6 separate regions of the Homo sapiens genome follow, and all the other regions are linked to region 1. Evidence: promoter capture Hi-C in 16 types of primary human blood cells and fetal thymus (Javierre and others, 2016). All regions are on one chromosome and are shown on one strand. Each heading gives the region's core, a stretch centred on a gene start or on the middle of the fragment in contact. The rest is flanking DNA. Distances are from core to core; before and after follow the strand shown.

Region 1 (5,025 bases), core at 1,408-3,907:
GGCGCCCGCCACCACGCCCAGCTAATTTTTTGTATTTTTTAGTAGAGACAGGGTTTCACTGTGTTAGCCAGGATGGTCTCAATCTCTGGACCTTGTCATCCGCCCGCCTTGGCCTCCCAAAGTGCTGGGATTACAGGTATGGGCCATCGCGCCTGGCTTTTTTTTTTTTCTTTTGCAACAGAGTCTGGCTCTGTCTCCCAGGCTGGAGGGCAATGGCTCGATCTCGGGTCACTGCAACCTCCACCTCCTGGGTTCAACTGATCCTCCTGCCTCAGCCTCCCAAGTAGCTAGGAATACAGGCGCACACCACCATGCCCAGCTAATTTTGTTTTGTATTTTAGTAGAGATGGGGTTTCACCATGTTGGCCAGGCTGGTCTCGAACTCCTGACCTCAAGTGATCCACCCGCCTCGGCCTCCCAAAGTGCTGGGATTACAGGCGTGAGCCACCACGCCTGGCCCCAGTCTAACTTTATGATGGTAAGTGGGGTGACCACCTGTGTTATTGAATTGGCTTGTATGGTAGGGGTGAGTAGACACAAACTTTTCATATCTTTAGGACAGGAGGTAGCCTGCATCTTGGAGCAAGACTGAAGCCAAGCTTTTCCCTCCTAGGGGAAATGGGAGACAAGAGAGCTAACTGCCTTGACGACGGCATTTCGTCAGGGCTCCCAGGTCCTTGAATTCCTGAATTTGGAGACTGGCAAGTGGCTTATGTAGCCATCATGAAGATTTACATATGCCAGGCTGGGTGCTGTGGCTCACACCTGTAATCCCCGCACTTTGGGAGGCCGAGCCAGGTGGATCACTTGAGGTCAGGAGTTCAAGACCGGCCTGGGCAACATGGTGAAACCCCGTCTCTACTAAAAATACAAAAATTAGCTGGGCAAGGTGGCAGGCAACAGTAATCCCAGCTACTCGGGAAGCTGAGGCAAGAGAATCCTTTGAACCCTGAAGGTGGAGGTTGCAATGAGCTGAGATCGCACCATTGCACTCCAGCCTGGGCAACAGAGCAAAACTCCGAATCAAGAAAAAGAAAAAAATAAAATAAATAGTCGGGCGCAGTGGCTCACGCCTGTAATCCCAGCACTTTGGGAGGCCAAGGCGGGGGCGGAGGGGGGTGGATCACCTGAGGTCAGGAGTTCAAGACCAGCCTGACCAACATGGTGAGACCCCATCTCCACTAAAAATACAAAATTAGCTGGGCATGGTAGTGCACGCCTGTAATCAATCCCAGCTACTTGGAGACTGAGGCACGAGAATTGCTTGAATCTGGGAGGCAGAGGTTGCAGTGAACCGAGATCGAGCCATTGCACTCCAGCCTGGGCAATAAGAGCGAAACTCCATCTCAAAATAAATAAATAAATAAAATTAAATAAATGAATAAAATAAAATTTAAAAATAAATAAATACATAAGATTTTTTTTTGAGATGGAGTCTCACTCTGTTGCCCAGGCTGGAGTGCAGTGGTACAATCTTGGCTCAGTGCAACCTCTGCCTCCTGGGTTCCAGCGATTCTCCTGCCTCAGCCTCCCGAGTAGCTGAGATTATAGGCGCCTGCCACTACGCCTGTCTAATTTTTGTATTTTAGTAGAGACAGGGTTTTACCATGTTGGTCAGGCTGGTCTCGAACTCCTGACCTCAGGTGATCTGCCCACCTCGGCCTCCCAAAGTGCTGGATTATAGGCGTGAGCCACCACGCCCAGCCTTATTATTTCTATCTTTCTTTCTTTTTTTGAGAGAGAGTCTCGCTCTGTCGGCCAGGCTGGAGTGCAGCGGCAGGATCTGGCTCACTGTAACCTCTGCCTCCCGGGCTCAAGCAATTCTCCTGCCTCAGCCTCCTGAGTAGCTGGGATTACAGGCGCACGCCACCACGCCCGCCTAATTTTTGTATTTTTAGTAGAGACGGGGTTTCACCGTGTTGGCCAGGCTGGTCTTGAACTTCTGACCTCGTGATTCGCCTGCCTCGGCCTCCCAAAGTGCTGGGATTACAGGCGTGAGCCACCGCGCGCGGCCAGCCTTATTATTTCTTTAAAGCATTTTTGAGACAGGGTCTCGCCCTGTCACCCAGGCTGGGGTGCAGTGGTGCGATCTCCGCCTCCCGGGCTCCAGCGAAACTCCCACCTCAGCCTCCTGAGTAGTTGGGACCACAGAGGGGTGCCACCACGCCCGGGTAATTTTTGCATTCTTAGTAGAGACGCGGTTTCGCCACATTGGCCAGGCTGGTCTCAAACTCCTGAGCTCAACCAATCTGCCCGCCTCAGCCTTTCAAAGTGCCAGGATTACGGGCGTGAGGCACCGCGCCTGGTTAAATCCGCGGTTTCCACAGGGAATTCCAGGCCCGCCTTCCTTCTCCCGGAAACCTTACCGCTCGAGGACTACATTTCCCAGGATGCCCTGCGACTAACCAAGCCGGAAGACGGTTGTCTTGGTTGGGCGGGTCCGGGAGAGGCTCGTCTGTGGAGAGGTGGCCCAGCCAATGGGTGAGGCCGACTGAATCGAAAGCTACGGTGATTGTGCCGAGGTGATTGGAATCTTTGGCGCCTTGGTTTCAGAGGTGGGCGCATGATGAGCGGGTACAGAGACCAATGAAAAGGCGGGAAGGCGGATCCCGCGCGTGGGGCGCGAAGAGTTGCTGACGAGCAGGCTGTTTGTCCAATGCAAGGCGAAAGTCGCTGAAGGGGGCGGGGCGAGGCGAGAGGAGGCGGGCGTGTGTTGTGGAGGAAAGTGTGCCATGGCGGAGCCTGTGGGGAAGCGGGGCCGCTGGTCCGGAGGTAGCGGTGCCGGCCGAGGGGGTCGGGGCGGCTGGGGCGGTCGGGGCCGGCGTCCTCGGGCCCAGCGGTCTCCATCCCGGGGCACGCTGGACGTAGTGTCTGTGGACTTGGTCACCGACAGCGATGAGGAAATTCTGGAGGTCGCCACCGCTCGCGGTGCCGCGGACGAGGTTGAGGTGGAGCCCCCGGAGCCCCCGGGGCCGGTCGCGTCCCGGGATAACAGCAACAGTGACAGCGAAGGGGAGGACAGGCGGCCCGCAGGACCCCCGCGGGAGCCGGTCAGGCGGCGGCGGCGGCTGGTGCTGGATCCGGGGGAGGCGCCGCTGGTTCCGGTGTACTCGGGGAAGGTGCGCCCGGTCCCGGGGAGGGGACCGGCGGAAGGGCCAAGGGCTTGGCCTCCAGGGAGGGGCCGGCGTTCGGGGAGGGTAGGGCTATAGGGGTGTTGAGGCTGGCGTTCTGGGGCTGGTCCTCGGGCGTTAGGGTGTTGGAGGCAGGGAGAGGCAGGGCTCCGGGACTTTCTGCAGACTGGGGTGGTGAAGGAGGGTGGGATGCGTTGGAAGTTTAGGATTCCTAGGAGCTAGAGTCTTGGGGGCACAGGGAGGCTGAAGAGCTGGGATTCCTGAGATTTTGGAGAGGGACTGGGAGGACCTGGGGCCGTTGGATTTTGAGGTTGGGGTCCATGGCAAATGAAGCCAGGGAGCTGCAGTATTGGGGGTTGGGGTCCATGCGGGTTCAGAGAGGACTGGGCGGCTCCAGAGGCTGGGGTCCCCCGATGGTCGTGTGAGCAATGGGCTGAGAGTCCCTAAGAGTCAGGGGTAGAGGGGCGGCTAGTAACCTAGTTAAAAAGGGCAAGGAAGCATACATTTCAGAGTGTCTTAGGCAGATGGAGGAAAGGGTGAAGGGTACTTCCATTCTGAATCCTGGGGAAGCTGGACTTCTAGGTTGCCAGGAGAGGGCCAAGGTGTCCACGATCTTAGGGAGGATTTGGGAGCTGGGTGTCAGGGAAGAATTACCCCCAATTTTTTCTTTCGGTAGGGGAAGGACTTGGGCCTGACCCCTCTCCCTTCTTTGTCTTTGCAGGTTAAAAGCAGCCTTCGCCTTATCCCAGATGATCTATCCCTCCTGAAACTCTACCCTCCAGGGGATGAGGAAGGTAAGGGAGGGCCTCCAGGGAGAGGCACGCAGCCGCTGGCTTCTCTTAAGAGAATTCCTGGGGTTTATATTCCTGCAGTCAGTTGTCTCCTGAGGCTCAAGGGAAGAGCGTGGGAGAGGGGACTCCTGCATCCCAGCCACAGGAGCTGGATTGTTAACAAGCATAGAATGTATTAATGTATACATTTCTGGTGCCACCTGAAGAGATGCTGATTCTGTAGTCCTGGGCGGGGCAGGAGGCGGTAAGGTGTTGAGAATCTGTGACATCTTGTTACATCTGCAGCAAGTTCTTTGGGAACACTGGAGCCAGCAGGGTGTTCTCTGAATCTTATCAGGGATGCCCTGTCTTTGTCCTCCCCCACTGATGCATTTTTTGCAAACAACTCAAGGGCGGGGAATAGGAATCTAGTCTAATAAGGAAATAATCCAGTGGGCAAATGGAGACCTTGGACCAAGACTCTTGTACCATGAGGGAGTACAGTGGGGTGATTAAAAGCAAACAGGAGCCATCTGGCCTGGGTTTGAATCTCAGTTCTCTCTTTTTTTTTTTTTTTTTTAGACAGAGTTTCGCTTTTGTTGCCCAAGCTGGAGTGCAATGGCACGATCTCGGCTCGCTGCAACCTCCACCTCCTGGGTTCAAGCGATTCTCCTGCCTCAGCCTTCCCAGTAGCTGACTAATTCCCACCACGCCTGGCTAATTTTTTGTATTTTTAATAGAGATGGGGTTTCACCATGTTGGCCTGGCTGGTCTTGAACTCCTGACCTCAGGTGATCCGCCCATCTTAGCTTCCCAAATTGCTGGGATTACAGGCGTGAGCCACTGTGCCCGGCCTCAGCTCTATCTCTTAATAGCTGTGTGATCTTAGGCGAGTTTCTTTTTTCTTGTTTTGAGACAGAGTCTCACTCTGTCACCCAGGGTGGAGTGTAGTGGCGCAATCTTAGCTCACTGCAACCTCCATCTCCCAGGTTGAAGCCATTCTCCTGCCTCAGCCTCCCGAGTAGCAGGGATTACAGGCGCCCGCCACCATGTCTGGCTTTTTTGTATTTTTAGTAGAGATGGGGTTTCATCATGTTGGCCAGGCTGATCTCGAACTCCTGACC
Region 2 (5,025 bases), core at 1,166-3,665, 1.9 Mb after region 1:
AGTCTAGAGCTGTAGTGGGAGGAAGGCTTGGGAGTTACTGTTAATGGGTATGGTTTCTTTTAGGGGTAATGAAAATGTTCTAAAATTGACTGTGGTGATATTTGCAAAACTGTGAAGATACTAAGAATCATTGAACTGTACACTTTAAATGGGTGAGTTGTATGGTGTGTGAGTCATCTCTCTCAGTAAAGGTGTTATTTTAAAATACGTATATATGGGCCGGGTGTGATGGCTCAGACCTGTAATCCCAGCATTTGGGGAGGCTGGGGCAGGCAGATCACTTTTGAGCTCAGGAGTTCCAGACCAGCCTGGGCAACATAGCAAAACCCTGTCTCTACTAAAAATACAAAAATTACCCAGGCATGGTAGCAGCAGCCTGTAATCCCAGCTACTCGGGAGGCTGAGGCAGGAGAATCGCTTGAACCTGGGAGGCGGAGGTTGCAGTGAGCCGAGATCGAGTCCCTGCACTCCATCCTGGGCCACAGAGCTACACTGTCTCAAAAAAAAAAAAAATTGTACAGATATATATACACACACACACATATAGAAAAATTATATAATTTTTCCTCCTCTCTCTATATACATATATATATAGATATATGTATACACACACACACACACACACAGAGGAAGGTATAGGTGTCAAACCTTTTTTTTTTTTTTTGAGACAGATTCTTGCTCTGTGGCCCAGGCTAGAGTGCAGTGGTGCGATCTTGGCTCACTGCAACCTCTGCCTCCCGGGTTCAAGGGATTCTCCTGCCTCAGCCTCCCGAGTAGCTGGGATTACAGGTGTGTGGCACCACATCCGTCTAATTTTTGTATTTTTAGTAGAGACAGGGTTTCACCATGTTGGCCAGACTGGTCTTGAACTCCTGACCTCAAGTGATCTGCCCGACGTGGCCTCTTAAAGTGCTAGGATTACAGGCGTGAGCCACTGAGCCCAGCCTAAATTCAATTATTAAACTCCTTGAGTTAATTAAAGGGTAGCCAGGTGCGGTGGCTCATGCCTGTAATCCCAGCACTTTCAGAGGCCGAGGCAGGAGGATCGCTTGAGCCCAGGAGTTCCAGACCAGCCTGGACAACATAGCGAGATCCTGACTCTACAAAAAACAGAAAAATTAGCCGGGCGTGGTGGCGCGTGTTTGTAGTCCCAGACACTCCTGAGGTTGAGGTGGGAGGATCACCTGAGCCCTCGGGAGGTCGAAGCTGCAGTGAGCGGAGATCGCACCGCTGCACTCCAGCCTGGGGGACAGTGAGGCGGTCTCAAAACAAAACAAAAACAAAAGGGGAGGGCGGGGGGAAGACTTAAAGACCCCTGAGCCAGGGCCATTATTATTTAACTTGGTCGGGTCTCTGAACCATTCGGAGGAAGCTTGGGTTTCTATCCTTCCCGACTGAGCCACAGACCTGAGTCTTGACTCCGGATAAATCACCCCAGACTGTTTTTCTGTCTGTGACACGGGAACGGCAGCTTCTGCCTCGCGAGGTGGAGAGAGAATGAGAAGCGCCGTGTGTGGCGCGCCTGACACGGTCAGCTCGCGGGTGGAGGCCCGGAGCAGAACGCCCTCGGGCGCCCGCTCTTGCAGCCGCACTGGAGACCGGGAATGGCTCCGGCCACGCCTCTGCCGACTGCGGCAACGCGAGGGACAGCTGGTCTCCGGGGTTGCAGCGTAACGCCCTCCTTCCCGGCCTCATCTTTCCTGACTGCATAACGGGCATACAGTGGGTTCCATGGCGCAAGGGAGCTGAAGAAGCCGCCCGCCCCCAGCTCGCCCGGGATCCTCACGCCCCTATAACGCCCCGAGGGGCCACGATGCTGCCCACAGCCCAGATCGCGAGTGCGGACCCTGCGGGAGGGTCTGGCCTAGATGCGAGTTTCCCGCCGCAGACCAGGCGAGGCCACGCGACATATCCCCTACCCGCTTACTGCAGGCCGCAGACGGAGACAGTGCAGCCCTGCGCACTGCTGAGGTTGCCCGAGGTCTCAGCCTCGGCGGGTCGGGAACACGCGGCGCGCGCCCGCGCCCCAACCGGAAGTCCGCCACCGGCCGCTCTAGCACGCGCAGGGCTGCGTCTGTGGCCTTAACCCTTCCCAAGGCTGCGCCGCCGGCCTTTGTCTCCGCGGAGCGTCACAAAGGTTGGAAGGGTCGCGGGGCCTCTGGGTGCCGAGCTGCAGATGCCTCCACTGCGAGCACAGCCCTGAGACAAGGGCCCAGGCGCCCAGCGGGGCTGGTTTCACTCAGTCCAGCCGCACCTACCCGTGCCCTCACCAGATCTTAAGATACAGACATTAAAACCTCCACCGGGCCGCGGCACAGGACAGCAGTTTTACTTTCTGTTTTTGGCATTGCATTGCCTCCATTTCCTAGAGTGCACGTAATAAATACCGCTGGTGATTCCAAAATATAAAGGTTGAAAATATTTACTTTACAAAAATTTGGTTCCCATACTGCTTTTAAGGCCATCCTCTGCACTTGGTTCCCGCTGCTCCTGATGTGGTTGAAAGATGGATGACCCCAAAGACGAGGAAAAGATTATTGGCTCCATTTTTTAGATGCGGCAGCCAGCTAAGGTCTAGACAGGGGAAGGGACTTGCCCCAAATCACAGTTAGAGCAAATCAGTCTGAATCAGGAATAACTCCATTCCTATCCCGCATCCTGCCCTTTCACTACGCCACAGCTGCCTGGCTGCCTGGAGGAACAAAGGAGGGCCGGGCAAGAACGCCATTACCAACTGCAAATCCACAGGCAAATGCAAGAGGACAGAAAGTAAGTTCTTGGGCTCTGCCCTTGTGCCGTACCCGGAGGGGTTCTGGGGTCACCAGCCAGGTGCATCCCTGCCTTCACAGCCATGCACAGCGACACCCAGTTAACTAATGGGGGGGATTATGCCACTTGCTGGGTATGCCTGTGCCACCAGTGCACTCACTCTGTGCCTGGGGAAATAACCACGGATGAATCTGGGGATCCCCTGGGCCCACTGTGAAATGGACCTGAGCTAAAACTCCATTGATCACAGGACCTCAGGGATCTTTTGGGTCTCGAGAACAGAATTGGATGCTACAGGAGAAATGTAACCAGAAAAGGATTAGGATTTTGCCAGTAGAGAAAGGGAGATGTGCTTGCTTTCATTCATTTATCATTAATGAGCACCTACTGTATGCCAGGCACCACACTAGGCCCTAGGAAGACAGAGATTATGAGACAGATGTGGCCTTATTCTAGCAGGGGAAGTGAGATGAAGGAGGTGAGAAAGAGGAAGTATAGTGACTAACCAGGGACCTGACCTAGTTTGAAGGTCAGGGAACCTTGGAGGAGGTGAAATCAAACCCAAAGCCTGAGATAAGAGAGAGAAGGGGAGGGTGGAGGGAAGGAAAGGGCTTCACAGACAGAGGGAACGGGAGTGCTAACAGCCTGGCCAGCTTCCTTGTGGTAGAAGTTCTATGCATGAGTTGGAAGAAAGCTTGGGGAAAGGGGCAGGAGAGGTGGGCAGGGGCCAAATCCAGCAGGGGCTTTTCTACCATAAGGAACTTGGTGGGAGAACTCCATGGGCAAAAACAGGTGTGGAAGGGACCAAGAAGCCCATGTGGCTGGAGGGCAGGACATGAGATGAAGATGACTAGAGCAGGGAGTGAGGAGGTGGAGAAGGTGAGCAGAGGCCAAGGCTGGGAGGCCTGAAATGCCTGGCCGCAAAACTCAGCCATTAGCCTGGAGGCCATGCAAGTGAACAGCAAGGAGGAGAGTGGAACACCAGGGAGCGGTAGGGATTGCGGGGACTGAAGGGCAGAGACTCCGCCCCCAGGGCAGTCAGTGTTCTGCACCCCCTACCCCCCTACCCCACCAACCTCCGCCCCATGACCACTCCAGGAGGCAAACTCAGTATCTCAGAATATCTGCTTTCAAGGGTAGCTGGAGTCCAGATTTCTTTTTTTATTTTTGGTAGAGACAGGATCTTGCTCTGTCGCGCAGGTTGAAGGGTAGCAACACATAGCTCACTGTAGCCTCAACTCCTAGGCTCAAGCAGTCCTCCTGCCTCAGCCTCCCAAAGTGCTGGGGTTACAGTGTGAGGCACGTCACCCGGCCTGAGTCCAGATTTTTTTTTTTTTTTTGAGACGGAGTCTCGCTCTTTCACCAGGCCCGAGTGCAGTGGCACTATCTCGGCTCACTGCAAGCTCCGCCTCCTGGGTTCAGGCCATTCTCCTGCCTCAGCCTCCCGAGTAGCTGGGACTACAGGCACCCGCCACCGCGCCCAGCTAATTTGTTGTATTTTTAGTAGAGATGGGGTTTCACCGTGTTAGCCAGGATGGTCTCGATCTCCTGACCTCGTGATCCACCCGCCTCGGCCTCCCAAAGTGCTGGGATTACAGGCGTGAGCCACCGCGCCCAGCCTAGTCCAGATTTTTATATGAAATCACTTGATTTTAATGTTGCCAACATGTTCAACACCATGTAAGCCAAACAAATCACATTCACAGGCTCACAGCTCCAAGCTTTGCAGCATGTTAGCATCACCTGAGGAGCTTGTAAAAATCCCAGGGCCCTTGGCCGGGCGCAGTGGCTGATGCCTGTAATCTCAGCACTTTGGGAGGCCAAGGCGGGTGGATCACCTGAGGTCAGGAGTTCGAGACCAGCCTGGACAACATGGTGAAACCCCATCTCTACTAAAAATACAAAAATTAGCCGGGTGTGGTGGCAGGCACCTGTAATCCCAGCTACTTGGGAGGCTGAGGCACGAGAATGGCTTGAACCTGGGAGGCGGAGGTTGCAGTGACCCAAGATCATGCCACTGCACTGCAGCCTGGGCGATAGAGCTAAACTCAAGACTCAAAAAAACAAAACAAAACAAAAAATCCCAGGGCCCAGGTTGCACATGATACCAATGTAAAATGTCTGGGGTGGGGCCGGGTGTGGTGGCTCATGCCTGTAATCCCAGCACTTTGGGAGGCCGAGGGAGACGGATCACAAGGTCAGGAGATTGAGACCATCCTGGCTAACACGGTGAAACCCCGTCTCTACTAAAAATAA
Region 3 (5,025 bases), core at 1,265-3,764, 1.1 Mb after region 1:
ACCAAAATGGTGAAACCCCGTCTCTATTAAAAATGCAAAAATTAGCTGGGCGTGGTGACGGGTGCTTGTAATCCCAGCTACTCAGGTGGCTGAGGCAGGAGAATTGCTTGAACCCAGGAGGCGGAGGTTGCGGTTTGCCAAAATCGCTCCACTGCACTCCCGCCTGGGCGACAAGAGCAAGGAAGGCTCTGTCTTAAAAAAATAAATAAATGAAAATACAAAAATTAGCCAGGCGTCGTGGCACATGCCTGTAATCCCAGCTACTTGGGAGGCTGAGGCAGGAGAATCGCTTGAACCTGGGAGGCGGAGGTTGCAGTGAGCCGAGATTGTGCCACTGCACTCCAGTCGGGGTGAAAAAGCAAGACTCCGTCTCAAAAAAAAAAAAAAAAAAAAAAAAAGAGGCCGGGCACGGTGGTACACGCCTGTGGTACAGCACTTTGGGAGGCTGAGGCAGGTGGATCATGAGGTCAGGAGATCGAGACCATCCTGGCTAACACGGTGAAACCCCGTCTCCACTAAAAAATACAAAAAAATTAGCCGGGCCTGGTGGCGGGCGCCTGTAGTCCCAGCTATTCAGGAGGCAGAGGCAAGAGAATGGCGTGAACCCGGGAGGCGGAGCTTGCAGTGAGCCGAGATGGCGCCACTGGACTGCAGCCTGGGCGACAGAGCGAGAGAGTGAGACTCTGTCTCAAAAAGAAAAACGGAAGCAACTAAGAAATGTCAAGAGTGCCATTTTGGAATCAGAGAAGTCATGCTGACTGAGGCACAGGCTTGGCGTGGGAAAAGTGGACTCCAATCTGTTAACTTCTGAAGTTGTCCACGGCAAATATTTCTCTGACGGCACAGGAAGAGATCTGAACTTGGCTTCCCTCATCCATTGAACAAGTATTAACAAGTATCTATATATGCCTACCGTGCCAGGCCTTATTCTAACCACTGGGGCTGCAATATTTAAAAAGACAAAGTTGGATCCTCCAAGGACTGTGGTGGGGAAGGCTGACAAAACAAGTAACAAAAATGTGTAACATTAAAAAAAAAGTGTAATGTTAAAAAAAAAAAGTGTAATAAAGTTACAAAGCCTAGCCCCAGCTCGGCTTGTTTCCCTAGCTGAAATGGGGGATGGCCGGGCGCGGTGGCTCACGCCTGTAATCCCAGCACTTTGGGAGGCCCGAGGCGGGAAGATAGCTTGTGCCCAGGAGTTCGAGGTCACAGTGACCTATGATAGCCCCACCGACTCCAGCCTGAGCGATAGAGCGAGACCCTGTCTCTAATTTAGAAAAAAGAAAGTTGTGGCCGGGCGCGGTGGCTCACGCCTGTAATCCCAGCACTTTGGGAGGCCGAAGGGTGGTGGTGGGTGGGGGCGCGGATCACCTGAGGTAGGGAGTTAGAGACCAGCCTGACCAACATGGAGAAACCCCGTCTCTATTAAAAATACAAAATTAGCCCAGCGTGGTAGCGCATGCCTGTAATCCCAGCTACTCAGGAGGCTGAGGCAGGAGAATTGCTGGAACCCGGGAGGCGGAAGTTGCGGTGAGCCGAGTTCGTGCCATTGCACCCCGGCCTGGGCAACAGCAAAACTCCGTCTCAAAAAAAGAAAAGACAGTTGTTTAAACATTTTTATGAAATGATATGGGAGGGGACTGGTCTAGGGTTTCTAATAGCCTCCACATCGCCCAGCGGCAGAGCCCACAAAACTGCCACTGGCCGCCACCGGGTTCCTCCACCTCCTTCCCGATCTCAGGCTGGAGAAGTGGTGCAGGGGTCGCTGCGAAAGGAGAGGAGCGTGTATGACGCCACATCCGGCGCGCGGCGGAACTGGCCTCCTTTGCTTCCGCGGCGGGGCCGGAAGTAGGAGCGGCGGCGGCGGCGGCGGCGGCGGTCGAAAGCGGAGTGAAAGAGGGAGGCAGGGAGCCGGAGAGCCGGAACCGGAGTCGCAGCGGCGGTAATAGTGCGAGACTCCTCTAAGTCACCGTCCTTAGCGCGGGACCGCGGGGTTCGACGGGAGTTAGCGGGGGTGCGGCCAGGCCGTTGGACGCCGGGGGGTCCTGGGGCCGATGTGAGGGGAGGCGGGGGTGGGGGAGCCGGGCCGGCTCTAGAATCGAGTTGTCCGCTCCGAGCCCCGGACGGACACTGATCCGCGGGCTCGTCTTGGCCTTTCCCAGGAGACCCCTGTGCGGTGCGGAGGGGGCGGCGGCCCCGACTCTGACCCGCGCCGGGGGTGGGCCATGGCGGAGATCAGCGACCTGGACCGGCAGATCGAGCAGCTGCGTCGCTGCGAGCTCATCAAGGAGAGCGAAGTCAAGGCCCTGTGCGCTAAGGCCAGGTGAGCTCGTTGGCCCTGGGGAAGGGAGGCCAAGCCGCCGCCCACGGGTTCTGGCCTGGGGCAAACCCAACTGAGAACTTTGGGCTTGCCTCGTTCTGGAAGCTTTCCCAGAGAGGAGCAGGATGGAGCCGCTGCCCTCGAGGAAAAGCTAGCCTGCTCGGGGAAGACAGAGTGGATAAAGACACTTAAAGTTTATTAGACGATGTGTTTCCAGTGGAGTAAGAGTGTTACATAAAGTACTTAGGAAACTCAAGGAAACAAGTCCATCTGTCGGGGGACGGAAGCTTGTTGGAGGGGGGCCGAACTGTGGGAGAGGCCTCGAATAAGGAGGTGGTAAAAGAGTCAGCCAAAAACCAAAAGTTTAAGACAGGAAAGTTAAAGACCCTGTGATTTATAAAAGTCTTCTAATTACAACAACCCTTAAAGATTGGTGGTATTGTACTCATTTTACAGGTGGGAACTTTCATGTTCAAAGTTACCCACAAGTAAGGAATGGGGTCTGAAGCCAGCTCTTAGTGTCCTGTCCTTTTTCAGGCCATAATGCAAAAAGGTGGAGTTGGATCATTCACGTTCAGGGTGGGAGCCTGAGAAATCGTAGCAAGTAAGCCAGGGTAGAATTAAGCACGATAGGGAGGCCAGTTCAGAGTTCTGTGGGAAGTAGGATGATGTAGTGGTTAAGGCTCTAGGTTTTGCAGTGTGAGATGGCTCTAGGTTTGAATCTGAACTCTGCCGCTTTCTAGCTGTGTTAGTAATCTTAAGTGTCTTTATTTGTAAAGCAGAATTAATAGTACTTAATAAGATGATTGTGAAGATTCAGTGAGTTGGTGCTGGAGATGAGGTTAGCACAGTGTTTTGGTACAGCATACGTGCTTGATAATCACCAGGTATTCTATTTCTTTTGGAAGAGGGCAATAATGAGATGGGCTAAAGCCATCAGGGAGGGCTTTTGAGTGGAGGTAGGCCTTGAAGGATGAAGATAATTTGGCTAGCTGATGGAGGCAGGGCCAGTGAGGGAAGGGCATTCCAAGCAGGACGAATGTAACAGTGGAGGCCCTGAGATGCGTGGGGAACAGTCAGGGGTTTAATTACCTGCCTCCTCTGGGGAACTGTGTGATTGTGGCTTCTACCAGGCTGGAGAATTGTGGCAGAAGAGCCCACAGAATTACCCTACGTTTATTGAACAGTAAACATTGGCCTTTACAGGGCCACTATTTGGCCTGGCCCGGTACTGGCAAAAAACTTCTATCCATCTCTTCCCCCCAGCAATCCTATGAGGTTGGAATCATTTGCTGCATTTTATCGAATAGGAAGCCATGACTCGTAGAGGTCTGGTGACTTAACTGAGGTCACCCACTGAGGACGTGGCAGAGCTGGGTCCTGAATCTGTGGCCCTCAGGCTCTTTGCCTGGCCCTGCCTCACATAGACTACCTGCAGCCAGACAGGGCCTGTGAGGGGATGATGAGCAGGGTCGGCCTCTTTTTCGCCACCTGTCTGTGGCTTTTCTCTTTTGCCAGCTGACCAGACCAGCCCCATGGTGTTTTTAGTTGTCCCCTTTCCCTCAGTCCTGATTGGCATTTTTAGGAACTTAAACCTGTTGTTGCCTGGCACTATTCTTTAACCTCGAAGTATTGTCTCCCTCACGGGCCCTGGATCAGTGTGGTGGTGATGGTAGACAAAGCTTAGATAGCATGCTGGAGTTTGCAGAATAGCAGGAAGTCGTATATTCAGTCTCCATGGCTCCTTGCAACAGCCTAAGGAATACGCAGGGTGGGCTGAGTACTTAGCCCCATTTCATAGCAGAGGAAACTGAGCCTTTGAGTAGATAATGTCTTGCCCAACATCACGCAGCTAGTCGGAGGGGAAGTTAGTTTTGCATCCAGGTCTTTGACTGTGCTCCGTGGTCACTGAGAGCCAGGCAGAGGCATTTAGATTTTGATGTGGGGTGTGAGGCAGCAGGAAGCCATGGAAGGCTGAGGGGTGGAGGGTCCTGCCCAGTTGAAACTGAGTGGAACTAGGAGGTACTAGGCCAAGGCCTGAGTTGGCCGCTGTTGTCCCAGGCTCAGTCTGAAGCAGGGCCATCTCTGATACCTGGTTATGGCCTCCTGGGGACCCATCAGAGACCCAGGCTGAGGCTGGTGGTGTCAAGAGCACCAGCTTGCCTAGAGGGCACAGACATGCAGATGAAACCAGTGGAAGCACAGAGGTCCGCAGTGTCTGAGCTGAAATTGCTGCTACTAGAAATATTAGCACAGTAGGAGAGCTGAGCTTTTGAATCAGGTGGTCTTCAGTATGAATCTTTGCCTTGTCACCTAGAAGCAATATGACCCTCGTCAAGTCACTTTCTGATTTTTTGAAGTGATAATGACATGCAGTTGAGAGTCCGGGTATCCGGGCACAGGGCCTGCTGCGCTGGTAGCCGTTACTGCAGGCAGGTCCTGATAGGGCTGGGGAAGTGCTGCAAGTGGCAGAACTGGGGCTGGAATCTGGGCCTGATTCCCAGGCCACACTGGGGTTGCGCTGGCACTGAGGGGGGCTTTGCAGAGAGCACGGGCCCTGCATGTGACCTCCCTGGGCTTCAGGTTTTCACTCAGGGTCTGTGGAAGGGGCTGGCATAAATTCTCAGGAAATTGGGCTTCTGGGTTCCAATTTAGCCACTCTCCAGCTTGGTGACCTTGACCCTCCCGCTTTTCTGTAAGCTTTG
Region 4 (5,025 bases), core at 1,920-4,419, 1.1 Mb after region 1:
GAGATGATATCGTTGGATGTCCATTGGAGGCAGCTGAAAGTATTAGATCAGAATCAGAACTGCCAGGTCCCTTCCCACGTCCAAGCCTGCTGAAGCTTCTTTCATCTTCTGGGAACTCTGCATCTCTGATCTCCCACCCACCCCACGATTATTGGAAGTATACAATCCTGTCTGCCCTTTCCTAGGGGAAGTGCGGAACTACATATGATACATCTGACATCTCCAGCTTCCAACTTCGGGAGAGGAGACTTTGCGGTTAGCTGGCTATTGTGAAGTCAGTTTTTCTCTGCCCCCAGCAAATGTTGTGATGTGGATAGAAGTGGGGCCTCGGCACAGCCAGGCGCAGTAGCTCACATCTGTAACCCAGCACTTTGGGAGGCCGACGTGGACAAATCACAAGGTCAGGAGTTTAAGACTAGCCTGGCCAACATGGTGAAACCCTGTCTCTACTAAAAATACAAAAATTAGCCGGGCATGGTGGCATGCGTCTGTAATCCCAGCTATTTGGGAGGCTGAGATAGGAGAATCACTCAACTTGGGAGGCAGAGGTTGCAGTGCGCTGAGATCGCACCACTGCACTCTAGCGTGGGCAACAGAGCAAGACTCCATCTCAAAAAAAAAAAAAAAGAGAAAGAAAAGAAATGGGGCCTTGGCAAAGTGGGGTGCATACATCATCCCTTGTCTTGGCTTGCCTGGCAACACACAAGCCTGGGGCACTGCCCGTGCTCCTGCATAATGTATGAGCCCATGGTAGGAACAAAACACCAGCACCAGCGAGTCTGGGCACTGCAGGCCACGGACGTGTCCAGGGGCCTTGCCAAGGCTGAAGTCTCTCTGTTGGCAGAATATGCAGAATATGTGTTCCTGGAGGCCTTTTGTAGGGCTGAGGTGAGAACTGGCCTCAACTTGGTCCTCAGGATTCCATCAGACAATAAGACCGCCCAAGGCCGGGCACAGTGGTTCACGCTTGTAATCCCAGCAATTCGAGAGGCTGAGGCAGGAGGATCGCCTGAGCCCAGGAGTTCAAAAACAGCCTGAGCAATACAGTGAGACCCCGTCTATACAAAAAATTTTAAAAATTAGCTGGGTGTCGTAGCATGCACCTGTAGTCTCAGCTACTTGGGAGACTGAGGTGGAAGGATCCCTTGAGCCAGGAGGTCGAGGCTGTTGTGGTGAGCCATGATTGTGCCATTGCACTCCAGCCTGGGCTACCGAGTGAGACTCTGTCTCAAAAAAAACAAAAACAAAAACAAAAACCGGAAGACAGCCTAAGAAGACAATCTTCTTTAGGATCAATAATGGTGACATTAGCAACAGCTAGACTTCTGTTTTCTGGGCTTGAAACGCCCTCTGAGAGGGCCAGGGGTGGCCAAGAGGGTGGCTGAGACCACCTCAGTATGGTTGACAGTGGGAGGGAAGATTTGGATCCAGGGACACAGCCCCTGGCAGTTTCCGTGGCTGCCTCATGGTGTAGGAAACCCCAGGAGCAGCAGCTGTGGTGAGGTATGTTGGGGTGGAGAACATGGACAAAAATAGGTATATGGTGGCATTGTTTTTAGGGGAAAATGCCAGGATTCAGCCATCGTTTAGGAAGTCGGAGGCCTCCATAGAGAGGGGTGCTTGTGTGAGCGTGCATGTGTGGGTGTGTGCAAGTGTCTGTGTGTGTGTGATCTAAAAAGGTTAGGAATGAAACGGGGAGGTCTGAGTGCCTTGAAAGCCAAGGAAATTAGGACGTGTGGAAAACAATGCTTCATTCGTGGATGGTGTTTGGTTTCAATTCATTCATAGAATCAGTGAGTATTGGCTGAGTGCAGTGGCTCTGGCCTGTAATACCAGCAACCTGGGAGGCCGAGGTGGGAGGATCATTTGAGGCAGGAGTTGGAGACTAGCCTGGCCAACATAGTGAGACCCCATGTCTACTTTATTAAAAGAAAAAAACAGGCCAGGCGCAGTGGCTCACACCTGTAATCCCAGCACTTTGGGAGGCCAAGGCGGGCAGAACACCTAAGGTCGGGAGTTCGAGACCAGCCTGACCAACATGGACAAACCCCGTCTCTACTAAAAATACAAAATTAGCTGGGCATGGTGGCACTTCCAGCTACTCTGGAAGCTGAGGCAGGAGAATTGCTTGAATCCAGGGCGGAGGTTGCAGTGAGCTGAGATCACACCATTGCACTCCAGCCTGGGCGACAAGAGCAAAACTCCGTTTCAAAAAAAAAAAAAAAAAAGAAAAGAAAAGAAAAAAGAAAGAAAGAAAGAAAAAGAATCAGTGAGTATTCACCAAGGCTCCCAGGGCTAGGCCAAGTACTAGAGCTCAGGATACGGAGATGACTCAGACCAGGCCCCAGACACTTGCAGTCTAATTGTGGAGCCAGACATGGAAGTGAGGAATTCAAGTATCTTGTGAGAAGTGCGAGAACAACAGTATCTGTAGGATGCTGTGGGAATTCACAGTCCAAAGCAGCCACCTCTGCCTGAGGTTGGCAGGGAGACCTCACAGAGGCAAAACTGAGGACGTGCTTGAGGGATGAGGAAGAGGTTTGAGGGGAAGACAGAGGGTGTTCCAGGCAGAGGGATCAGCAACTGCAAAGCTGTGGAAATGTGAGACCCTACACACTGGTTCAGGAAGCTTCAGCAGATCCTACTGAAGGTGGCTTATGCCTGTAATCCCAGCTACCTGGGAGGCTGAGGCTGGAGGACTGCTTGAGCCCAGGAGTTCAAGACCAGCCTTAACAACATAGCAAGACCACATCTCTAAAAATTCAGAAAAAAAGGCTGGGCACAGTGGCTCATGCCAGTAATCCTAGCACTTTGGGAGGCCAAGGCGGGCGGGATTGCCTGAGGTTAGGAGTTCGAGACCAGCCTGGCCAACATGGTGAAACCCCGTCTCTACTAAAAATACAAAAATTAGGTGTGCGTGGTGGCAGTCGCCTGTAATCTCAGCTACTCGGGAGGCTGAGGCGGGAGAATCGCTTGAACCCAGGAGACATAGGTTGTAGTGAGCCAAGATCACACCATTGCACTCCAGCCTGGGAGATGAGCGAAAATCTGTCTCCAAAAAATAAATAAATCAATTAATAAATAAATCAGTAAAAAAGAACCGGGCCCGGCGCGGTGGCTCACGCCTATAATCCCAGCACTTTGGGAAGCTGAGGCGGGCGCATCACTTGAGGTCAGGAGTTCGAGACCAGCCTGGTCAACATTGCGAAACCCTGTCTCTACTAAAAATACAAAAATTAGCCGGGTGTGGTAGTGCGCGCCTGTAATCCCAGCTACTCGGGAGGCTGAGGCAGGTGAATCACTTGAACACGGGAGGCGGAGGTTGCAGTGAGCCGAGATCGCGCCACTGCACTGCAGCCTGGGCGACAGAGCGAGACTCCGTCTCAAAAATAAATAAATAAATAAATAAATAAATAAATAAATAAATATAAATAAAATATAAAAAGTAGCATTGATGTTTACAATATCCCTGAGCGGCAGGCGTTTCTCCCTTTTGCAGATGCTCAGTGGCTTGGCCGGAGATACATCCAAGTGGTGGGTGTAGCCTGGGGGTTCAATCCTCCTGTGGCGCCCCAGAACCCGGTGCCTCCTCCAACGTCCGGCATCTGATGAGGATCCGACCCAGGCGGGCGGCGGCGGGATTCGCTCTTCCCCTTCGCTCCCCGCGAGAAAGCCCCGAGGGCCGCGGCGGCGCAGAGCCGGTGACAGTTGAAGCTTAGGCGGGAAGAGGGAGGCGCGAGGCGGGAAGAGGGAGTTTGGGCCTCGGCAGCCGCCGTACAAACACCGCTCTGGTCACCATGGCAACAGCGGGATGCCGCGAACGGCTTCTGGGCGGGGCCGGTCCCTCGGACGATTGGACCTAGCTTGGCGCGGAATCCGTGAATTGCCCGCGGCCCGAGGGTGCAGGTGATGGGTGCTGACCGACTGGGGAAGCCCGGAGTGTGGGGACTGAGGAGGGGAGTGGCCTGGGGCGCGCTGGAGCCTGCGAGGAAGGCGCCGCCTCGGATCCCCCGCCCCCCATTCCCCTTCCCGAATTCCACCCTCCGGCCCAGCCATGGCCTCAGTTTCCCCAAACAGGAAAGGGAAGGAGGGTGGGCACCCCGGTCTAACGGTGCCTCTCAGCCTCTGAGACCCAGAACCTTCCTTCTGCAGCTCCCGGACTGACTGGCTCTGCCCTTCCCCATGGACGTAAGTCCGGGCCCCTTCCCCTCTCTGGGCCCCCTCAGCGCCCTCTCCTAACCCCGAATGGGCCTGTCTTCCAGCACGGACTGGGGAGGGGGCTTCTACCCAACAGAGACTACAACCTGCCAGCTCAGGACGAGAGCTGTCAGGAAGAGTCCAGGAATGGACTTCCCACGGGAGGGCACATTTCTGGTATTCCTGGCAAGATAAGGAGTTGACTAAGTAATCCACGAGAAAAGGCATTTCCGGCAGAGGAAACAGTCTGGGGGTGAGAGGGAGGCTGCAGCATTTGGGGAACTGCTAGGGCTATCGTGTGTTTGGAAGAGGGGGAGGGAGAGAGGTAGGCAGGGCTAAATTGGGAATTTTGTCACTGACATAAATTTTAAGTGCCAGGCGTGGTGGCTGTCGCCTGTAATTCCAGCTACTGAGGAGACTGAGGTGGGAGGATCGTTTAAGCCCAGGAGCTCGAGGCTGCAGCGAGCCATGATCATGCCGCTGCACTCCAGCCTGGGTGACAGAGTGAGACACTGTCTCTAAAAAAATTGACCAGGTGCGGTGGCTCATGCCTGGAATCCCAGCACTTTGGGAGGCCGAGGCGGGCGGATCACCTGAGATCAGGAGTTCAAGACCAGCCTGGCCAACATGGCAAAACCCCCTCTGTACTAAAAATACAAACATTAGCTGGGCGTCGTGGCGCGCACCTGTAATCCCAGCTACTAGGGAGGCTGAAGTAGGAGAATCGCTTGAACCCGGGTGGCAGAGGTTGCATGAACCAAGCTTGCCCCACTGCTCCAGCCTGGGTGACAGTGATACTCCGTCTCAATAAGAATAATAATAATAAAA
Region 5 (5,025 bases), core at 1,626-4,125, 1.0 Mb after region 1:
TTCTCTATCTCTCCCACTGTCATCCCCACTGCTGGCTGCCTCTTTCTGCTCTTCCTCGCTGTCTGAGTCTCCCAAGAGCCTCTTTGCCTGGCTTTTCTGCTTACAGCTCCTCTCCTCCCTAGCTGACTTTCTCCGGCCATTGCTCCTGGTTCTGGGTTTCCAATCCCCCTTTTCCTCATCCTCTTCTTTCTCTTCCTCCTCCACTTCCTCCTCTCTCTGCTCTTTCTTCTGGGCTAGGATCTCCTCTTCACTCTCCTGTTCACTTTCCTTCAGGCTTTTAGTTCCTTTATTTCCCTCCACCTTCTTTGCTGTCCTCTGAACGGGTTCTGCCTCGCTCTCCTCACTTTCTTCCCTGGCCTGCTTCCTACTGACTGAGGCCTTGCCTGGTGCCTGCTTCTTTACCACAGGTTTCTTCCTAGTCTTCCCCTTGTACCCCTTTTCCTCCTCCTCACTGCTCTCCTCTCCCCTCTGTGCGGGCAGGTCCCTCTGCCGTTCCTCATCACTGCTCTCCTCAACTGCCTTTGAGGCTCGCCTTGGATTCTCCTCTTTGGCTGGGCTGACTTCTGCTGCCACCCCATTCTTTGCTGGGGGTCCAAAGTAGTCTGGGCTGGAGGCTTCAGAGCCGGACTCTGGAATATGGAGAGGAGAGAGGGTTGAGACAGGCTCCTCCTGTCCCTTCTCCCTTCACTTCGGATAGGTTGCCTCGAGCCCTGCCCTGACAGTTGGAGGGGCAGCAGGAAACAGCTATCTGTACTTGCTGTTCCCGGTTCCTGACTCACTAGCCTTGCTCCCTCATCTAACGCCTGGGGACATAAGAGATGCGCAGTGAATGCTTCTTGAGTGAACCAACGATGCAGAAGGCCCCCACAGCAGGGAGGAAGCACTAACCCGACTCTGAATTGAAGCGGAACCTTTTTCTCTCCGGGTCGCTACAAGGGGTGGGAGGCCTCTTGCCCTTCTTGGTAAGGTCCAGTTTGTCTTCCCTGGAAGCGGCTTCATCCACCTGTGTGTGCGCCAAGAGGGCAAACTATGCACCAAGGCTGCGCTCACCGCGCCCCGTCAGGCCCCTCCTCCTCAGCAGCAAGCCCCGCCTCCGCCTCCCGCGGCCCAGGCTCCGGCCCGGCACACCTGCATCTTCAGCAGCTCCTCCTCCACCAGCCGCTTCAGTGCCTGCTTCTCCTCGGGCTCCAGGTGGCTGCGGCCCGAGTGAGCTAAGTACCTCCGCCGCACGATGGAATGCGTAAGCGTGCTGCAGGGACATGGTGTCAGGACGGAGTCCCGACCCACCCGCGCCCTTTCCAACCCCATCTCCAACCCCCTGGGCACCTGAGGTCCGGGCGGCCTCGGAAGAAGCTACGGGTGAACTCCTGCATCTCCTTCTCCCGCGCCATTTTGCTCAACCCGGGATTGACGGCTCCCGCCTTTTTTTCTTCTCGGCCTCCGTCAGCGCGTTTGACAGCGGCTCGCGCACGCGCAGTGCTGCGGCAACGTGGGGCGAGGGACCGTTGGCCCTTGGCCGCGGACCGCGTGGGCCGAGAACTTTGCCAGACGAGACTTGTTTTCTCTGGGCAGTTGGAGGGTCTCGCGGCTCCTACCCTTTTTTGGAACGGATCATTTTAAAAGTTCTCGTTAGAAACCAATTCGGCGCCGGCACCCTTTGGGTGAAACCTAATCAGCCCGCGACGCTGCCTTTCTCACTGGTCACGGGCAACAGCTAGGCTGCTGTTATTTCGCAAGGCAGAAGAGAAAAGGCATCCTCGCGAGCAGATGAGGAACCTCGGGGATAAATCCTTTTGTGGCTTCAAGTGTCTAAGTACATTAGAGTCAGGAACGGCGCTTTCCAGCGTCCGCCATTTTTGTGGCGTCACCGCGTCGCTGCTACGCCATCCCCAGCGCAGTGGCTGCCGCGCTCCTGTCCCAGTGTCCCCCGGGAGGTCGGCCCGTGCGGTGACGCCCCTGAGCGCGGGGTACGCCGGGAGTTGTAGTCCTGACGGCACAGCCTTGCAGCGTCTCCGGAAGTGGAGGCGGGAGCGGCACGGCAGCCACTGCTTGGGGTAGCGGGAGGGCAGACTCTGGGCGCCACTCCCGGGCCGGTCATGAACGGGCCGGCGGACGGCGAAGTGGACTACAAAAAAAAATACCGGAATCTGAAGCGGAAGCTCAAGTTCCTCATCTACGTGAGTGCTGCCGCGGGAAGGCTGTGGGGGATGAGGCCTGGCGCGGACAAGATCTCAGTTTACCCAGGTGTAAAGTGGGTGGGGCGAGCGGCCGCTGGTTCCGGGGCCCTTCACGGAGGACCGTTGGCCCAGCGCACCCCTTGCCCGTGATACAGGAGCACGAGTGCTTCCAGGAGGAGCTGAGGAAAGCGCAAAGGAAATTACTGAAGGTGTCCCGGGACAAGAGGTGAGGCACGTTGCAGGGGCGGAGGGCGATGTGCTTCCTAGGAAATCTACATTCGGACCCCATCCCCGAGTAGGGCCACAAGTGCATGGGCTCTTTCAAGTATCCGATGGGCCAGCTGGGAGGGACAGGTACCCAGGAGGACATTGCTGCGCTGGAAAATCACTGTCCGTGTCTCCTTCCCTCCCCTCAGTTTCCTCCTAGACCGACTTCTGCAGTACGAGAACGTGGATGAAGACTCTTCGGGTGAGCAAGGTCTTCAAAAATTGGTGGAGAGCATGGTTCCTGGTACTTAGCAAGCTTCCTGGGCCCCCGCCTTTTAGGCAGTGGTGGCTGATGCAGCCCCCAGTGGTCCTTAAGCCTAGTTGCTTGCCTTCCACCTCCACCGTTCTTTCATTCAGGCACTTACTGAGCACCTATTGTGTTTCAGGCACTGTGCTTGGCACAGGGGATACAGCAGAGGCAGAGATAGGCAAAGCCCTTGGCCTCTTGTAATTTATATTCTAGTTGGGAAGAATAAGTAAATGAAGACAATAGACTAGAATTTTAGGTCATAGGAAGGACTTGAAGGTAATGAAAACAGTTATGCGGTAATGATTATAGTAGAACAGGGGTTGATGAATTGTTTCTGCAAAGGGCCAGATGGTAAGTAAGCTTTTTGCAACATACAATCTTTGAAGCACCTACTGAACTCTGCCATTGTAGTAGCAGCCGTACCCCATAGGCAAATACATGAGTATGGCTATGTTTCTATAAAACTTTATAGGCACTGAAATTTGAATTTCATATTTTTCCATATGAAAAATTTTTCTTTAGTTTTTTTTTTTTCCAACCGTTTAAAAGCTTAAAAGCCATTCTTGGCCAGGTGCAGTGGCCCACGCCTGTAATCCCAACACTTTGGGAGGCCGAGGTGGGCGGATCACAAGGTCGGGAGTTCAAGACCAGCCTGACCAACATGGTGAAACCTCGTCTCTACTAAAGATACAAAAATTAGTCGGGTGTGGTGGCGTGCACCTGTAATCCCAGCTACTGGGGAGGCTGAGGCAGGAGAATCATTTGAACCCTGGAGGCAGAGGTTGCAGTGAGCCGAGATCGCTGCCACTGCATTCCAGCCTGGGTGACAGGGCGAGACTCCGTCTCAAAAAAAAAAAAAAACGCCCTTCTTAGCTTGCAGACCACACAAGCAGGCAGCAGGCAACCTCTGAATGGAGTACTCAAGAAAGGCCTTTCACAGAGTGACATTTGAGTTGGGACCAGAGAAGAAACCAGCCTTCCATCCTGGGCAACATAGTGAGACCCCATCTCAATTAAAAAAAAATTAGCCATGTATAGTGGTGTATACATGTGGTCCCAGCTACTTGGGAGGCAGAACCAGGAGGATCCCTTGCCTGAAAGGTCAAGGCTGCAGTGAGCCATGATAGCACCGCTGTGCTCCAGCCTGGGTGACAGAGCAAGACTGTCTCAAAAGAAAGAAACCCCATCCTGGCTAACACAGTGAAACCCTGTCTCTACTAAAAATACAAAAAGTTAGCCGGGGATGTTGGTGGGCACCTGTAGTCCCAGTTACTCGGGAGGCTGAGGCAGAAGAATGGCGTGAACCTGGGAGGTGGAGCTTGCAGTGAGCTGAGATTGCACTACTGCAGTCCAGCCTGGGCAACAGAGCCAGACTCCATCTCAAAAAAAAAAAAAAAACAAAAACCAATCTTGTGAAGAAGTGGGCTAGAGCTGTCCCGGCAGAATAATATAAATGCAGCTACCCTGAGGTAAGAACAGGTCAGGCTTGGTTGAAGAGCAGAGGCATGAAAGAGAGAGAACACTGTTTTCGTCCTTTTATTTGAATATTGTCTGCAGTTAACTATATTTTACATCATAACCAGGGCCCCACATGTTAAACAAAACAAAGTTTAACGAAACATTTTTAAGATCACTGTATCCAATTCATCCTGACACTTTTTAGACTGCTTTTTTCCCCTTCTTTTAATGCTGGTTGCAAACCAATAAATTGATTTCATGACCCACTAATGGCTTGAGACCCACAGTTTGAAAAAGCCCTAAGGTAGGCATTTGTGGGCCTCTTCCTGGGTGAGGCCCTCGTAAGCCATGTCACGTAGAATCACCTCTCTCCGTGGTGCCTTTAAACATTGGTCTGGGCCGGGCACGGTGGCTCACGCTTGTAATCCCAGCACTTTGGGAGGCCGAGGCAGGCAGATCACGAGGTCAGGAGATCGAGACCGTCCTGGCTAACATGGTGAAACCCCGTCTCTACTAAAAATACATAAAATTAGCTGGGTGTGGTGGCGGGCGCCTGTAGTCCCAGCTACTCAGGAGGCTGAGGCAGAAGAATGGTGTGAACCCGGGAGGCGGAGCTTGCAGTGAGCCGAGATTACGCCACTGCACTCCAGCCTGGGCAACAGAGCAAGACTCCGTCTCAAAAAAAAAAAAAAGCACATTGGTCTGAGGCAGGGATTGGCATGTGGCAGCCAGCCACGTTTTAGGACGTAGTGTTTTGTCAGAACGCATGATACCCATTTGCTTGTTATTATAGGAGGATTGTAGATAAGGTTGGGGAAATAGGCAGGGGCCCACTCAGGTAGGTCATAGTAGGAGATTTGGCTTTTATTGTAG
Region 6 (5,025 bases), core at 1,165-3,664, 1.0 Mb after region 1:
AGCCGAGATTGCACTACTGCACTCCAGCCTGAGTTACAGAGTGAGACCCTGCCTCAAAAAGAAAAAAAAAAAAAAGGGCCAGGCGCGGTGTTTCACGCCTGTAATCCCAGCACTTTGGGAGGCCGAGGTGGGCGGATCATGAGGTCAGGAGATCAAGACCATCCTGGCTAACACGGTGAAACCCCGTCTCTACTAAAAATACAAAAAATGAGCCAGGCGTGGTGGCGGGCACCTGTAGTCCCAGCTACTTGGGAGGCTGAGGCAGGAGAATGGCGTGAACCCAGGAGGCGGAGCTTGCAGTGAGCTGAGATCGCGCCACTGCACTCTAGCCTGGGCGACAGAGCAAGACTCCATCTCAAAAAAAAAAAAAAAAGACAAATGTCAGCTTATATGAAAATAACATTTTCCCTTCAGTTGCTCCCTAGATGTGGAGAGCCCTCTCCCTCATGGAGGCTCCTTCTATAGCCCTTGGACTGGATTAACATGTCCTCCTCCTCCTCTCCCTGTACCCCTCCCTAGGAGGAGCTGGCTCTGTGTGGCTCCAGGCTGCTGGTCTTGGGCTCCTTCCTGCTTCTCTTCTGTGGCCTTCTCTGCTGTGTCACTGCTATGTGCTTCCACCCGCGCCGGGAGTCCCACTGGTCTAGAACCCGGCTCTGAGGGCACTGGCCTAGTTCCCGACTTGTTTCTCAGGTGAGGTTCTTTGCTCCAGTCCTGCGGGAGCAGGGAATGGGGTGGGGGTGGGGGTTGTAACCGGGGTAGAGCAGATCCTTGGACTTTTCCTCAAAGACTGCTGCTTCTGAGTCCCCGAGAACCTCTTCAACCACAGCTCTCCCTTAGGGACTGGGAACAATTTGACACCGTCAGCATTCAATATTTTTCTAATTACTTTAACTTTTTTATTATAAAATAGTTAACACTTATGTAGAAAAGTCCAATAGTATAAAAGGACAGCTTGGCAAATTATTATAAAGTGGATACTTATAAATACCACTGAGTAGAATATTACCAGCTGTCCAGAAACCCCCCATGGTCCCTTCCTTCCTGACAATGCCCTCTCTCTCCCTAGAAATTACTGTCCTGCTTTATAATGTATTGCCATGTATGTATTCCTAAATAATATAGTTTGGTTTTACTTATTTTTGAAACTATGTAGACAGAATCATACACATTCTTTTGTGGCTGACTTCTTTCAAGCAACATTGTGATTTTAAGACTCATAACTAGTTCACATCCAAGCATTTGGGTAACAATGGTGAGTTAAGAGGGTTCACATTTGATGATTTGTCCTGAATATGAACCATGTTTGTCTTGCTTTTGTCCTGAAATTCCAATACCCAGTTTTATGATGGAAATTTTGTAAAATTCAACTTGAACCGCTCAGAAGAGTCTAACTGATGATACTCATTTACTGGGGACATAGTATGTGCCCAAGAACTTGACATGCACCTTCTGTCTTCCATTTAGTCATCGTTACCTTTAGAAAAAGCTGATTCCGTTAACAAGATCTTTGGAGGGAATCAGCTTCACAAACGTAGCAGTGGGTGGGGGTCATGTTGGTTAACCAGTTCACACATCAGCTCACTAAAGGAAAAAATATTTCTGCAAAAAATCTTCACTTGTCAGAGGGGGGTGCATGAAATTTGAGAGCCATGTGTTATGCATCCAGCTCTTGAACTGGTCTCAGCTTCAGCTGGCTGCAGTGCCCTAGGAAGTTACTATGGGAAAAGTGGAAATAGTTGAGGCCCAGGGAACTGATCAGGCCAGAGGAAGTGGAAGCTCAAGATCAACTGTGCTTATTTTGCTGATGGCTGGGCCTAAATGCCCCAACCACCTACTTGGGACAGGAAATGACAGGACCCTCTCAACCTTGGACTGGGAAAGGAGGGCTTCCTGGCCCCTGACAGACCCTGGGGTCCTGAGGCTACCTTAGTTGGGATTAAATGCCCGTATTGGTCTCTAGCTGTCACTCCCTCTGCTCCTTCCTCAATTTCTGCACACATCTCAGAGCTTCCTCTAGCAGCTCTTCGACCTGTTTTGTTGTTTTATTTTCTTTCTCCCCAGGTGTGAATCAACTTCTTGGGCCTTGGCTCTGAGTTGGAAAAGGTTTTAGAAAAAGTGAAGAGCTGGAATGTGGGGGAAAATAAAAAGCTTTTTTGCCCAGTGGCGTGTATGGTGTTTATTGGGGGTTGGATTGAGGTGGGGATTTTAGGGTAGGCAGGCTTAGAAGTTTTGGGGGACTCTTTCCTGTTGACTCTCTAGTTTGGACACAGGTTGGCATAGGGCATAGGTTACTTGAGCTCTCCCCATGGTTGACTTGGCTTTGGTAAACACCTGTCTTGTTTTCTTCTACGAAATAAAATGGATAATTACAGTTAGTTGGGCGGGTGGGGTGTCAGGTCATGGAAATGCTGTGACATAAATGCACTGTGACCTTGGCAAGTCTTGCAACCTGCAGCGCCTCAATTTCCGTAAGAGATTTGACCGATTGAGTTTTCCCAGCGTCGACGCGCAAAGATTCCTCGCACTTGGAGGCCCTTTTCCAGGTTAGATGGTTGCTAACCTCGGAGCAGTCTATTTTCCCGCCTTTTCCGCGCCCAGCAGCAGCTTCCTTTGCCCCTCCCAACTTCCACCCTGCGCGCAGTCGCAGATCGCCGCTGCTGTCCGTCCACCCGCGCCCCCTCAAAGCTTCCCCTAGCAACAAGCTCGGGCTCAGAGCGAAGGCGGGGCGAGCGCATGCGCTGCAGCTCTGTCCACCGCCAGTCGTGGGACAGAGTGCCGGGCTCCTCCCCTTGCAAGTCTAGCTCTTCTCCCCGCCTCCTCCGGCCTGGGGTCCGCGTGGCGGGGCGGGCGCGCACTCGGGCTTGGCGGCTGCCGGTCTCCCAGGCCGCGGCAGTGAGGAGAGAGGGCGGGGCTGAGTCCTCTGCGCCCCCGCCCCCTTTAGCCCGGCGTCCCTACCGCGCCTGCGCGCTCCCGCCCGGTCTCCATCTTGGAATTGGGAGGAAGAGGGAGAGGGAGACCGGGACGAGACCGGGGCTGTGGTGCGGAGAGAGGCTGAGACGGAGAAGAGGAGAGGCAGAGAGGGCGCGGGGACCGTCAGCAGCACCTTAGCTACAATCGTTCAGCTATTCTCGGAAGAGAGAAGGGAGAGGGAGGAGGCCGGGGCGGGAGTGGGGGCTGTCACCCTCGGACCCCGGCGTGAGAGGGGCCGTGCGGCCGGACGTCCTCGGGGTGGGCCCCCAGTCGGTGGCCGAAGACCTACAGCTCAGGCCCCTGGGTCCCAAATTTCCAGGCTTTGCCCCTCCTCCTTTCTCAGATACCCGGGTAACAGTCCTCATAGTCCAGATATCCGGGACTCGGGTCCCAACCTCTCTAAACCTGGGTCTCTGTTTCATAGAATTTCAAATATCAGGTTCAGGCCCCTGCGTGCACCAGTATCCGGGGTTCATTCCCCGGGCGTTCAAATATCGGATTCAGTCTCCATCCCGTTCAGATATTCGGGGTTCAGACCCCACAATCAGAAATCCGGAATTCGGCAGCTGTCGCCCTCGACGAGGGGGAGGACTGGACCGCGAGGTCAGATTAGGTTGTCACCCCCTCCCCTCCAGGGGAGGCTTCCCGGGCCCGCCCCTCAGGAAGGGCGAAAGCCGAGGAAGAGGTGGCAAGGGGAAAGGTCTCCTTGCCCCTCTCCCTGCTTGGCAGAGCCGCTGGAGGACCCCAGGCGGAAGCGGAGGCGCTGGGGCACCATAGTGACCCCTACCAGGTGAGACACGGGGTGCAGGGGCGCGGGTCCCTGTGTCTAGTTCTGAGAAGAAAGGGTGCGCCTTTCTGAGAAGCTGGACTTGGGTAGGCCCTCTCAGGATGGGGAAGCCCAGCTGAGCGAGTGGTCAGCCTCTGGCTAGCCTTGCCTTCTGTTGCCACCCCCTTCCCCTTCCTCTTCCCTTCATTGTGTCTGGTTGGTGGGGGACCTCAGGTGACAGGGTCTCTGATGTCACCGGCGTTCACACCCTAGGGTGCTTCAGCTAATCAGATGGATTTGCACTTCAGTCTTCTCTCCTTCACTTTGCCCCTCACAGCCACCTCTCCTCCCTGATATGTCCCGTTCTCCTGGCTATTCTGTGGTTTTGATTCCCATGCCTCTGATTCCCATGGTGGGTCTGCTTATCTGCTTTTCAGGCCTGGTCTGGTTGGATTTCTTGTCCTTGCAAGGAAGTGTGTGTATATGTGTTTGTGTGTATGCGTGTGTGTGTGTGCTTGGAGGTGCCTGGCAATGTTTTCCCCCAGCTGCAGTTACCTTCCAACCTCTTGCTGTGATGGTGTCAATAATCTCATCCATTTGTCAAACGATCTGTCTTTTACAAAGTGCTTTGACAGCCATTCTCTCATGTGACATCCCCGCATTCACCCTGTGGGGGCCTCTTTTATTGGCATCTTCCCATTTTACAGTTGAGAACGTTGAGGCCGAGAGAGGTTGCCCAAGGTCACACAGTGGCAGAACCAGAATTTGAACTCAAGTCCTCAATCACATCTTTCCCTGATGCATGCCTGGTTCTTGCCATCTCTTTTCCTCTGAGTTTGGGCTCGGCCAGGGGTCCCTAGGAGTCCAGGCTGGGGTGAGGTTTAAGAATGGGGATGAGATGAGCTTCCTTTCCAGGAGGGCTCTACTCAGAAGCTTTTCCTGATGGGAGCCTCTGGCTTTTGCCTCTGCCTCATGGAGTTTTCTATCCACTGTGACCTTCATCTTTACCCCAATCCCAGGGTTTGGCCTGGATTCCTGAGAGGGCTCTCTCCTGACAAATGGTAGCACTAGTGGCATCTTTTAACTGTTCAAGCCAAGCTGTTGGGGTAGAATGATCCCCCAAAGGATTAAAGCTTTGTGGGGACCTTGGAGGCAGGGAAGGAAAAATCCATATGCTGAGTGTCTGCATGGTGTTCCTAAGTATGAGATCTCATTAAAATCTTAACAACAGCTCCATGCTGTAATCCATTTCACTGAAGAGAAGACCAAGAACTGGAAGGAACTTATTT

The links. The method cuts DNA at HindIII sites, captures the fragments that hold promoters and counts their contacts. A CHiCAGO score of 5 or more calls a contact.
Region 2: a contact is called between a fragment that was not itself captured here and the fragment with the promoter of NFATC2IP in region 1, in 1 of 17 cell types (total B cells). The highest score is 5.2, in total B cells.
Region 3: a contact is called between a fragment that was not itself captured here and the fragment with the promoter of NFATC2IP in region 1, in 1 of 17 cell types (total B cells). The highest score is 7.5, in total B cells.
Region 4: a contact is called between a fragment that was not itself captured here and the fragment with the promoter of NFATC2IP in region 1, in 1 of 17 cell types (fetal thymus). The highest score is 5.7, in fetal thymus.
Region 5: a fragment that was not itself captured here is called in contact with the fragment with the promoter of NFATC2IP in region 1 in 2 of 17 cell types (fetal thymus and total B cells); the score reaches 9.8 in fetal thymus.
Region 6: a contact is called between a fragment that was not itself captured here and the fragment with the promoter of NFATC2IP in region 1, in 1 of 17 cell types (fetal thymus). The highest score is 5.4, in fetal thymus.

What each region holds. Positions count from the first base shown.
Region 1 is chr16:28,948,280-28,953,304 of GRCh38, forward strand. It overlaps NFATC2IP (nuclear factor of activated T cells 2 interacting protein), which reads left to right and starts at 2,658. Exons shown (of 8, transcript NM_032815.4): 1 at 2,658-3,119; 2 at 3,853-3,925. The coding sequence starts at 2,733. It overlaps NFATC2IP-AS1 (NFATC2IP antisense RNA 1), which reads right to left. Exons shown (of 2, transcript NR_186408.1): 2 at 4,623-5,025. RefSeq lists enhancers at 1,980-2,514, 2,534-3,034 and silencers at 2,754-2,853, 2,994-3,113. The HindIII fragment of the contact is 4,735 bases long and covers 598-5,025 here.
Region 2 is chr16:30,873,350-30,878,374 of GRCh38, forward strand. MIR4519 (microRNA 4519) reads right to left here and starts at 1,974; the gene lies at 1,917-1,974. It overlaps MIR762HG (MIR762 host gene), which reads left to right and starts at 2,111. Exons shown (of 3, transcript NR_110942.1): 1 at 2,111-2,137; 2 at 2,681-2,769. It also overlaps a transcript of BCL7C not described here. RefSeq lists enhancers at 639-1,394, 1,395-2,149, 1,684-1,943, 2,150-2,904, 2,214-2,423 and 1 more and a silencer at 2,824-2,883. The HindIII fragment of the contact is 2,091 bases long and covers 1,371-3,461 here.
Region 3 is chr16:30,074,153-30,079,177 of GRCh38, forward strand. It overlaps PPP4C (protein phosphatase 4 catalytic subunit), which reads left to right and starts at 1,842. Exons shown (of 9, transcript NM_002720.3): 1 at 1,842-1,942; 2 at 2,163-2,323. The coding sequence starts at 2,226. RefSeq lists enhancers at 564-743, 2,366-2,455 and a silencer at 2,116-2,255. The HindIII fragment of the contact is 182 bases long and covers 2,424-2,605 here.
Region 4 is chr16:30,049,312-30,054,336 of GRCh38, forward strand. It overlaps LOC112694756 (uncharaterized LOC112694756), which reads left to right and starts at 3,840. Exons shown (of 14, transcript NM_001365304.2): 1 at 3,840-3,906; 2 at 4,153-4,188. The coding sequence starts at 4,183. It also overlaps a transcript of TLCD3B not described here. RefSeq lists an enhancer at 4,243-5,025. The HindIII fragment of the contact is 1,085 bases long and covers 2,628-3,712 here.
Region 5 is chr16:29,994,215-29,999,239 of GRCh38, forward strand. It overlaps INO80E (INO80 complex subunit E), which reads left to right and starts at 2,027. Exons shown (of 7, transcript NM_173618.3): 1 at 2,027-2,177; 2 at 2,333-2,403; 3 at 2,594-2,646. The coding sequence starts at 2,097. HIRIP3 (HIRA interacting protein 3) reads right to left here and starts at 1,403. Exons shown (of 7, transcript NM_003609.5): 1 at 1,327-1,403; 2 at 1,129-1,249; 3 at 889-1,003; 4 at 1-629. The coding sequence starts at 1,391. RefSeq lists enhancers at 1,751-1,920, 1,981-2,110. The HindIII fragment of the contact is 354 bases long and covers 2,699-3,052 here.
Region 6 is chr16:29,970,889-29,975,913 of GRCh38, forward strand. TMEM219 (transmembrane protein 219) reads left to right here. Exons shown (of 6, transcript NM_001083613.2): 5 at 520-690; 6 at 2,062-2,160. The coding sequence ends at 657. It overlaps TAOK2 (TAO kinase 2), which reads left to right and starts at 2,980. Exons shown (of 16, transcript NM_016151.4): 1 at 2,980-3,760. It overlaps LOC124903762, which reads left to right and starts at 2,734. Exons shown (of 2, transcript XM_047435036.1): 1 at 2,734-2,892; 2 at 3,109-3,747. The coding sequence starts at 2,734. The coding sequence ends at 3,747. RefSeq lists a silencer at 2,670-3,039 and enhancers at 3,463-4,234, 3,941-4,070, 4,872-5,025. The HindIII fragment of the contact is 537 bases long and covers 2,147-2,683 here.